3 separate regions of the Homo sapiens genome follow, and regions 1 and 3 are each linked to region 2. The links are contacts of gene promoters, found by promoter capture Hi-C in blood cells and fetal thymus (Javierre and others, 2016). All regions are on one chromosome and are shown on one strand. The core of a region is centred on a gene start or on the middle of the fragment in contact, and the rest is flanking DNA. Distances in the headings are between cores, read along the strand shown.

Region 1 (2,777 bases), core at 205-2,704, 210 kb before region 2:
GCTTCCTTTTAAGGAGGTTAAGGCAGTCGTGTTAGCCAGATCTGCAATAAACAAGCCCACATTCTTCCCACAAGCAGAAGCAGAAATCAACAAGTGTCCATTTGAATGAACGTACCTGAGGTCCGCAGCTTCTTCCTCTTAGTCATTTTATCTTCCCCTTGAGAAATCTGAAAACAAGCAAAATCTCTCATCATTATAAGCAGTCTCTGTCTCTGTTTATATCCAGTGGCTTTGGCTGAGAGCAGAGGTTACCCCTACCTCCACCTCAGCCCATTTGGCTGCCCCAGGGGTCAGATGGCTCCCACTGGGACACAGGATGGGACACAGAGTCACAGCCACTTTGGGCCATGGCCAGGTAGGAATTCAAACCTCCTCCAAACTGAAGATCTTATGCCCAGGACCTGAAAGACAAATGGGCCCTGGGGGGTCCTTATAGATAGCCCCGGGGACCCAGACTCTGGTCCCTAGGATGAAACAGCCTGTGTGAAGCCCCTCCCTCCAGACTGGGGTATCTGGGGGCCCTTCCAAGGACACTTGAGGACTCTCCAGGGGCCTCTGGAGACCAGCCTGGCCAATATGGTGAAACCCCCTCTCTATTAAAAACACAAAAATTAGCCTGGGCATCGTGACGCACACCTGTAATCCCAGCTACTTGGGAGGCTGAGACAGTAGAATTCCTTGAACCCATGAGGCAGAGGTTGCAGTGAGCCGAGATCGCTCTACTGCACTCCAGCCTGGGCGACAGAGCGAGACTCCGTCTCAAAAAAAAAAAAAAAAATTAGTCAGGTGCGGTGGCACACACCCGTAATCCCAGCTACTCAGGAGGCTGTGGTACAAGGCCAGGAGGCAGAGGTTGCAATGAGCCAAGATCGTGCCACTTTAAAGGGGACAGCTGGGTCCTTGGAGGGGAAAGAGCTGCCATAGGCCGGTTTCTCCCAGCCTTGGGGGCGAGGCAAACCAGAACGGACCTGGGCCACAGAAGTCGTTGAGGACCCTCTGTCCTTATCAGAAACGAGCTCTGCCTGGATCAGTTGGGAATAAGTCGCTTGAATTATCCGCGTTACTCTTTTTGGAAAAAATAAATGGCCAAATTGGCCCTCACAGAACGCTGGAGGCCTCGAGTCCGGAGGTGAAAGATGGAAAGGCCTGAGGGTGGGCGCTGTAGACCCCGCTCCCGGTGACAAGCCCCACACTGACACTACGCCGACCACCGAGAAGTGAGGACTCCACAGGCCGAGAGCCCACGTGAAGCCGGAGCCCGTCGGTGACTGACAGACGCTCTGAACCCCACAGATGTCGCCGCCCCTCACACCTGCGCGCGCTCTGCCTCTTTCCCGCGCCCCGCGAGGTCCCGCCCCGCGCATGAGCGACGCAAACACCGCCCTCGCAGCCCGCGACAGTCAGCACCGCCCCAGCCAGGCGCCTGCGCGCCCACGCACTACCTGCCGGGAGTTGTAGTTTCGGCTCGGCAGACCCGGCGAGCCCAGTGGCCGCGCTCCGGTGCGGCGGCGCCCGAGGCCCGAGGCGGAAGTGGGACGGCCAAGCAGGGAAGCGAGGGCTCGGGATCGACGGCCGCGGGGCGCCGACGAGGAGTGCAGGACTCAGGAAGGGCGAGTGCGCGGCGACAGAGCCCGGGGAAGGAGGCAGGGCAAGGCCGGGCTTGGGGGCAGGTGGTCCGGGCATCCAGCCTTGAAGATGCACAAGAGGAAAGGACCCCCGGGACCCCCGGGCAGAGGCGCCGCGGCCGCCCGCCAGGTGAGTTTGCGCCCCACGGCCCGACCTGGGGATCCCTCCCCACCCCCGTCACTCGCTCAGGGAAGGGCCCCACCCCCCAGGGAAGCCCGATCTCCGCCCCACAGGTAAGCCCCGGTCCCCGCCTCCCCCCAGGTGAGGCTCCAACACCACCCAAGTGTGGCCTACTGGCCTTGGCTCCCCAGCTCCTGGGGCCCTGCCCCGGGTTCGGGGCCACCTGTTGCCACAGCTGCTCCAGTCGAGGAGGGGCAGTCCTCGGACTTGACACATCAAACCCTTGCATCAGTCGGGCCATGTCAGACTCTTTTTATTCCATTGTACAGATGAGGACTTTGAGACTCAGAGACGTGAAGACATCTGCCCAAGGTCATAGGGATTAACAGCTTGGCCAGGGCTAAGCACAAATCCAGGGCTGCAGCCATAAGCTTATGGCACTGTGGCTGGACCCCTTCTCACTCTCCCGACTTCTTTGCCCCAGGCACCAGATAGTTTGATTTTTCTCAGTTTTGATGGAAGGAGCCCAGGACATAGCTTGGTGTTCAGATATTAGAGTCTGGCTGACCTGAAGTTCCCTCCTGGCCTCTGTACATCGGACACTTGACTTTACAGCTCTGAGCCTCAGCTTTCTCATCTGTAAAATGGAGATCTCTATAATCCCAGCACTTCAGGAGATGGAGGCGGAGGCAGAGGTGGGAGAGTCATTTGAGGCCAGAGTTTGAGACCAGCCTGGGCAAAAGCAAGACCCCCGTCTCGACAAAAAAAGACTAACTGGGCATGGTGGCATGTGCCTGTAGTACTACTACTTGGGAGGCTAAGAAGGGAGGATTGCTTGAGCCCAGGAGTTCAAGACCGCAGTGAGCTATGATTGCGCTACTTCTGCTCCAGCCTGGGTGACAGAACAAGACTCTTTCTCTAAAATAAAGATAAAAAATTAAAAATGGAAGTCCGGGGTGGTGTCTCACACCTGTAATCCCAGCACTTTGGGAGGCCATGGCGAAACCCCATCTCTACTAAAAATACAAAAA
Region 2 (2,700 bases), core at 23-2,522:
CGAATGAACCTCGCTAAACCCAGACACTTTTCATCCCAAGCCAGGAGTGGTGGAAGAAGCCCCAGGGACTGGGTGAATGACGGAGCCTCAGTTGTGAAACGACCATTTATTGAGGGGCCCTCCATGGAGCCTAGAGCTCACTGCAAGACAGGAAATGAGAGGGGGCTCTGCCACCACCCCCTTACCCCAACGCAGGAAAGAGGATGCAATGAATCCCAACAAGACCAGCTCAAACTTGGCTTTGGAAGCACTGAAGCAATTCTCTACGTTCATAAACAGTCTGCTACCCCAGCCAGGGACAGACGCTTGCTTGGAGGACGGAGCACAAGCAGAGCAGCAGAATGACAGAGTGACAGGATGAGAGAGGCAGAGGGACCCAGAAAGATCCTGTCCCCCATGCCAAGTGACACAGAAGAAAAAAATAATGCTGGAGGTGGCTCTGGGAAATGTTCAGGGGGCAGGATGGGTTTGGAAGGGGGGGCTGTGCTAAGGTGAAGAGGGAAAGGGCAGGAGAAAGATGGCGGGGGCTGGAGGGGGGAGGGGTGTGGTCAGCAAGTGGCCAAGGTCCCTGCGCGGTGGAGGCAGACAGACCTCATCGCATTCCCAAACTGGTAGAAACCTGGGTCGGGGTCAGGCAGAGGATCCCATAGGTGAGAGAGGTGAGTGAGGAAGTGGGGGGATTAGAATCTGGGAAGAGGGGCCAGGAAAGGAGGGGGTAGGCTGGTGACAGGGGCCCATGTGGGGCCCCAGCGGTCATACGTGCCATGGTTGGCAGTGACAGCTGGGGGGGAGCACGGTCTTTGCAGCATGGGGCGGCCCTAGGGGAAGGGGACCCCTACAGGGGGTACTCTGCGGGCCCGCGGGCCCCAGCCTTGGACAGGCCGGGGCAAGGGGCGCTGGGGGGTAGGCAGAGAGGATGAGGGGCCCCGTAGGGGGAGGGGCCAGGCGATGATGGACAAGGCCAGGGCTGGCAGCGCAGGGCCAAGATCGGGGTCACAGCCCGGGCACTCACCGCTCTCCTGCTCGCTGCCCTTCTTGGCGGCGGCGGCGTTGCCCATCGCGGCGGCGGCGGCCGGGGCCGGTCCCGGAGCTGCGGCGCGGCGGGTGCTGGCTGCGGCCGGCGGCCCCGGAGCGCGCTGGGCGGCGGCGGCGGCGGCCCTCGGGCTGGCTGCGCTAGCTGCGGCGCCGCGACCCCCGCCCAGCCCCTGCTTCCCGCGTCTCTCCGCGCCCGCCCGCCCGGGAACCTCAGCCCAAGATCTCTGCCGCTGTCTGTGACGCCCCCGCAGCCCGCCGCTCATTGGCCTAGGCCGCCCTGACTGACGGCTCAGCGCCGCCTCCCATTGGCCCTCCCGCGACCTTCCCGCGCCACTATAGGCTCTCAGCCTCGGGACACGCACCGCGGACTCTCGGCCATTCACTCGCTCGCGAGGCCGCAGCTGGGCGGGCAGACGCGTCCGATTGGCCGAGACGCTGGACTGGGCCCGGGGTCCGCCCTGCGAGGCCGCCGATTGGCGGAGGTGCCGGGTCCGCCAAGCCCCCCAGCAGAACGCTCAGTGTCAATCCGGGGGTGAGAGGGCGGGGCGGAGACGCAGTCTGCGGGCCCGGGCCGGCGGGGCGGGGCGGCGGAGGCTGGCTGGCGGCCGCGCAGCGCTCCGAGGCTCAGGAGGCGGCCCCGGCGGGCGCCCGGCCGGCCCCGCGCGCGCCGCAGTCCCCCGCCCCCGCTCAGTGCGGCAGCGGCTGTCGGCCAGCCGGAGTTGGCGCCGCGGCCTGCCCGGCGCAGCCGCTGTCCACCTGCCAGCGGGGGAGGGGCGCGGCCGGCGCGCGGGTCAGAGGTCGCCCGGCCGCCGCCGGCGTCATTCATAAGGCCTGGCGCTGGGCGGCCGAGGCCAGGCCTGCTTGGGGGCCAGGCCGCGGGGCCTCCTGGGTTTTCCCAGCCGCACTCAGGAGGATGCCGGGCCCGGCGCAAGGGGTGGCTGGGAAGGGGCGCTCAGTGTCCACCCCTTTGCTGGGCCCTAGCCCTGGGCTCCTGCCAGTAGTAAGAGCTGGCACCCACTTAACGCTCCTTCGCACCACACTCCCATCGCGTAGGTGCTACCATCATCACTCCCATTGCACAGATGAGGAATCTGGGGTACAGCCAGGCAGATTCCCTGCTCCTGTTCCCCGTCTGTATTTCCTGTCTGGGCAATGCGAAGGGAACCTGCCCCTTCCTTCAGGATCCTCTTTCAGTACACACTTAGCAGAGGACAGTCGGGGTTTCCCAACTGCGACACTACTGACGGTGAGGCTGGATCATTTTCTGCTGGGGGGTGTCTTGTGCACCACTGGGTGTTGAGCAACATCCCCCGCCTCTACCCACTGGATGCCAGTAGCCCCTCCTCTATCTTCCTGCTGGCTGTGGCAACCGCTGTCTCCTGACATTGGTGAATGTGCTCTTGCGGGGCCGAACTGCTCCTGATTGAGAAGCACTTAAGAGAGGGTCAGGGGAGGGGAGAAGCCAGGTCACCCCGACTCGGAAGGGCTAGCTGGGCTTAACTACAAGCCGATCTGCTGCTTCGACTTGAATAGCCTCCACCTTCTCCAGCTGCTGTCTGCCCCCATGTTCCCAGATCAACCACAGTTCCAGGGAGGGAGAGTCAGAGCCTTTCTGTGAACTATGGGGAAATGGCTGACCACTCCGCCTCTGGATGGATAGATACA
Region 3 (2,945 bases), core at 283-2,782, 170 kb before region 2:
AGGTGAAGGGTGCAGTGAGTTGAGATTGTGCCATTGCACTCCAGCCTGGGCAACAAGAGCAAAACTCCATCTCAAAAAAAAAAAAAAAAAAAAAGATATGTTGTGATATTGTGTTGTGATATATTTTTAAAAAACCATATTTTGGTCTTAGGTTTTCTAGTACATAACTCCTAAAACCCTTGAAATCAGCTGGGCACAGTGGTTTATGCCTGTAATCCCAGCACTTTGGGAGGCCAAGACGGGATGATCCCTTGAGGTCAGGAGTTTTCGAGCAGCCTGGGCAACATAGTGAGACCCCATCTCTACAAAAAAAATTTTTTTAATGAAGACAATAAAAAAAAACTATCTTCTAGATTGTTCAGAGGATTAAATGGGCTGGCCAGGGGTGGGGGCTCACACCTGTCCTCCCAACACTTTGGGAAGCAGAGGTGGGAGGATCACTTGAGCCCAGGTGTTGGAGACCAGCCTGGACAACTTGGTGAAACTCCGTCCCTACAAAAAATACAAAAAATTAGGCCGGGCGCGGTGGCTTATGCCCGTAATTCCAGCACTTTGGGAGGCCTAGGCGGGCGGATCACCTGAGGTCAGGAGTTCGCAACCAGCCTGGCCAACATAGTGAAACCTCGTCTCTACTAAAAATACAAAAAATTAGGCAGGCGTGGTGGCGCACGCCTGTAGTCCTAGCTACATGAGAGGCTGAGGTGAGAGGATCATCTGAGCCCGGGGTCGAGGCTGCAGTGAACCGTGATCACGCCACTGCACTCCAGCCTGGGTGACAAAGTGAGACTCTGTCTAAAAAAATAAAATAAATGAGGTAATGTATACGAATATGATGCACGGAGCGGACCTTCAACAATTATTTTTATTGCTATGATCTGCATAATTGGCACAACAGGGCCCTGCCACATCGAACTGTTTAAGCTCAGAACCGTGTCTGTCACATGTGGAGCGATCCATGATTGATGCTATCATTATCACCACCATCATCCCACCAACCCGCCCATCGGAAACAAGCTTTCATCGAATCCCATCGTTTTTTCCTTTTTTGTAAATCTCTTTCCTCGGCCTGGCTCTGCCGCCCAAGTATGCTCGTCAGGCCTTTGCCCACCTGGACCGGGCGCGGGCAGCCCGGGGCTGAGGATTCTCGAGCCTTGGTGGACCACAGGCTCCCGTCGCCCCGCCCAAGGGCCTGGACCGCCTGTGGTCTCCATGGAAACCCGCCAGCCACAGGGGGCGTGACGCCGTTGAGACAGACAGAGATATTCACCTATCAGATCAAAGTTATCTGGGCAGGGCGAACAAACGGGACCTCCGAGTGGTACGTCCTTAAGGCGGGGCGGGAATACGGCAACGGGCCGCGGGGGCTGTTACTGTCGCTACCAATCAAGAGTCGAGATGGCTTTGATGGACAGGCATAGCGCGAGTGCGGGCTTTCGCCCAACCGGCGGGCCGCTGTCCCGAAAAAGGACCAATGAGGAGGCGGCAGGGGTGGGGCGAAGGGGCCGGTTGCTCCGGAAGTGGAGGGAGGGGGTGAAAATGGCGCCCAGCTCGAAATCGGAGCGGAACAGCGGGGCTGGGAGCGGCGGCGGCGGCCCCGGGGGAGCCGGAGGGAAGCGGGCAGCAGGGCGGCGGCGGGAGCACGTCCTCAAGCAGCTGGAGCGGGTCAAGGTGAGGCCTGGAGCCGGAGTGGGGAGCGCGCCGGAGGGTGGGGAGTAGGGACGAGGGAGGCGGAGGGAGGAGGGCGTTCGCGGGGTGAGGGGTTGGGGGCGGGGCCCCAGGGGAGGGGGCTCGGATGCAGGGCCTGGGCGGGGCCCGGGGGAGATGGCTTGGATGGAGGGGGCTCAGTTGGGGGCCTGGATGCAGGTGGTTGTGTCGGGTGACCGGCAAAGGGGCTGGGATGGAGGGGGTTGGGGGCGGGGCCCCAGGGAGGGGGCTCGGAGGGAGGCGACCCCAGAGGCCGCAGGGAGAATCAGGAGGAAGGGGGCGATCCAGGCTTTTCAAAGCTCTGCTCCCATGGTTGCTCCATAATGGAACCTTCCCGCCCCCTTTGCAGAGCCCCTGCCGCTGGCTTTGGGCTTCCTCCGCCTGATGTTCCTCTCCCTGCCCAAGCCCCGACCACACATGAGCTGGGAGTTCCAGTACCTGGGTGGGCCTCCCCATTGAAAGTGTGGGAGCTCCCTGGATAGGGCTGAGTCTTCCCCCGCAGAGTGAGAGTTACCGAAGCAGGCTCTGTCTCCTCCATCAGACTGGAAACTCCCAGAGCTGGGGGATGATGTCTCTCTCCCCCATCAGTTTGGGAGCTCTGGAGGGCAGAAATGTGGATCTCTTGCAGGTGGGCAGTAACTGGGGCAAGGCTGTGTCTCTGTGGACAGGGACTGCGCCTTCTCCGTGAGGCTGGTAGCTTTGTAAGGGCAGTGCTGTGTCTCCCCCTTTTGACTGGGAGCTCCCTGGGCTGGGACAGTCTCCGCCCTTAGCCTGGGAGCTCCCTGGGCTTGGCTGTGGTTCCGCCCTTAGCTTGGAAGCTCCTTGGGCAGGGACTGTGTCTCCCCTGTCGGCCTGGGCCTGGCTGGCCAGGCTGTTTCCTCCGTCAGACTGAGACCTCCATGTGGACAGGGCTGTCTCCCATCAGACAGGGAGCTTCCCAGACAGGACTCTTCCCATCAGATTGGAATGTCTTGAAGGCAGAGTTGGGTAGCAAGACTGAGGCTGTTCGGATATCCCTGTGCCTGGCTTCTGCCTGTCAGTCCCCGCAGATCCTTCCGCGGTGAAGTTTTGGGGATGAGGGATTCCCTTGGATTCCGTTGGAAGGCGGTAGTTAATTGGGAAGGGGGCGTTGGGTCATTGGTTAGGCTCACCCTTCTATCTGCCTCGACTGGCCCCCAGCAGAGGCCAGAGCTGCCCCGGGGAGGAGGAGCCCCCTTGTTTGAAGGCTGGTGGGTTGGGAA

The links. The method cuts DNA at HindIII sites, captures the fragments that hold promoters and counts their contacts. A CHiCAGO score of 5 or more calls a contact.
Region 1: a contact is called between the fragment with the promoter of CC2D1A here and the fragment with the promoter of PRKACA in region 2, in 12 of 17 cell types (naive CD4 T cells, activated CD4 T cells, total CD8 T cells and 9 more). The highest score is 9.8, in naive CD4 T cells.
Region 3: a contact is called between the fragment with the promoter of DCAF15 here and the fragment with the promoter of PRKACA in region 2, in 6 of 17 cell types (activated CD4 T cells, total CD8 T cells, naive CD8 T cells and 3 more). The highest score is 6.7, in activated CD4 T cells.

The regions. Positions count from the first base shown.
Region 1 is chr19:13,904,747-13,907,523 of GRCh38, forward strand. CC2D1A (coiled-coil and C2 domain containing 1A) reads left to right here and starts at 1,455. Exons shown (of 29, transcript NM_017721.5): 1 at 1,455-1,755. The coding sequence starts at 1,696. BRME1 (break repair meiotic recombinase recruitment factor 1) reads right to left here and starts at 1,371. Exons shown (of 9, transcript NM_001345843.2): 1 at 969-1,371; 2 at 116-167. The coding sequence starts at 146. RefSeq lists a silencer at 1,770-1,829. The HindIII fragment of the contact is 3,878 bases long and covers 1-2,175 here.
Region 2 is chr19:14,116,490-14,119,189 of GRCh38, forward strand. It overlaps PRKACA (protein kinase cAMP-activated catalytic subunit alpha), which reads right to left and starts at 1,273. Exons shown (of 10, transcript NM_002730.4): 1 at 1,013-1,273. The coding sequence starts at 1,058. LOC124904642 (a long non-coding RNA gene) reads left to right here and starts at 1,725. Exons shown (of 2, transcript XR_007067144.1): 1 at 1,725-2,700. RefSeq lists silencers at 854-923, 1,334-1,893. The HindIII fragment of the contact is 7,542 bases long and covers 1-2,700 here.
Region 3 is chr19:13,950,977-13,953,921 of GRCh38, forward strand. DCAF15 (DDB1 and CUL4 associated factor 15) reads left to right here and starts at 1,533. Exons shown (of 13, transcript NM_138353.4): 1 at 1,533-1,668. The coding sequence starts at 1,537. It also overlaps a transcript of PODNL1 not described here. RefSeq lists an enhancer at 906-955 and a silencer at 1,616-1,755. The HindIII fragment of the contact is 10,644 bases long and covers 1,013-2,945 here.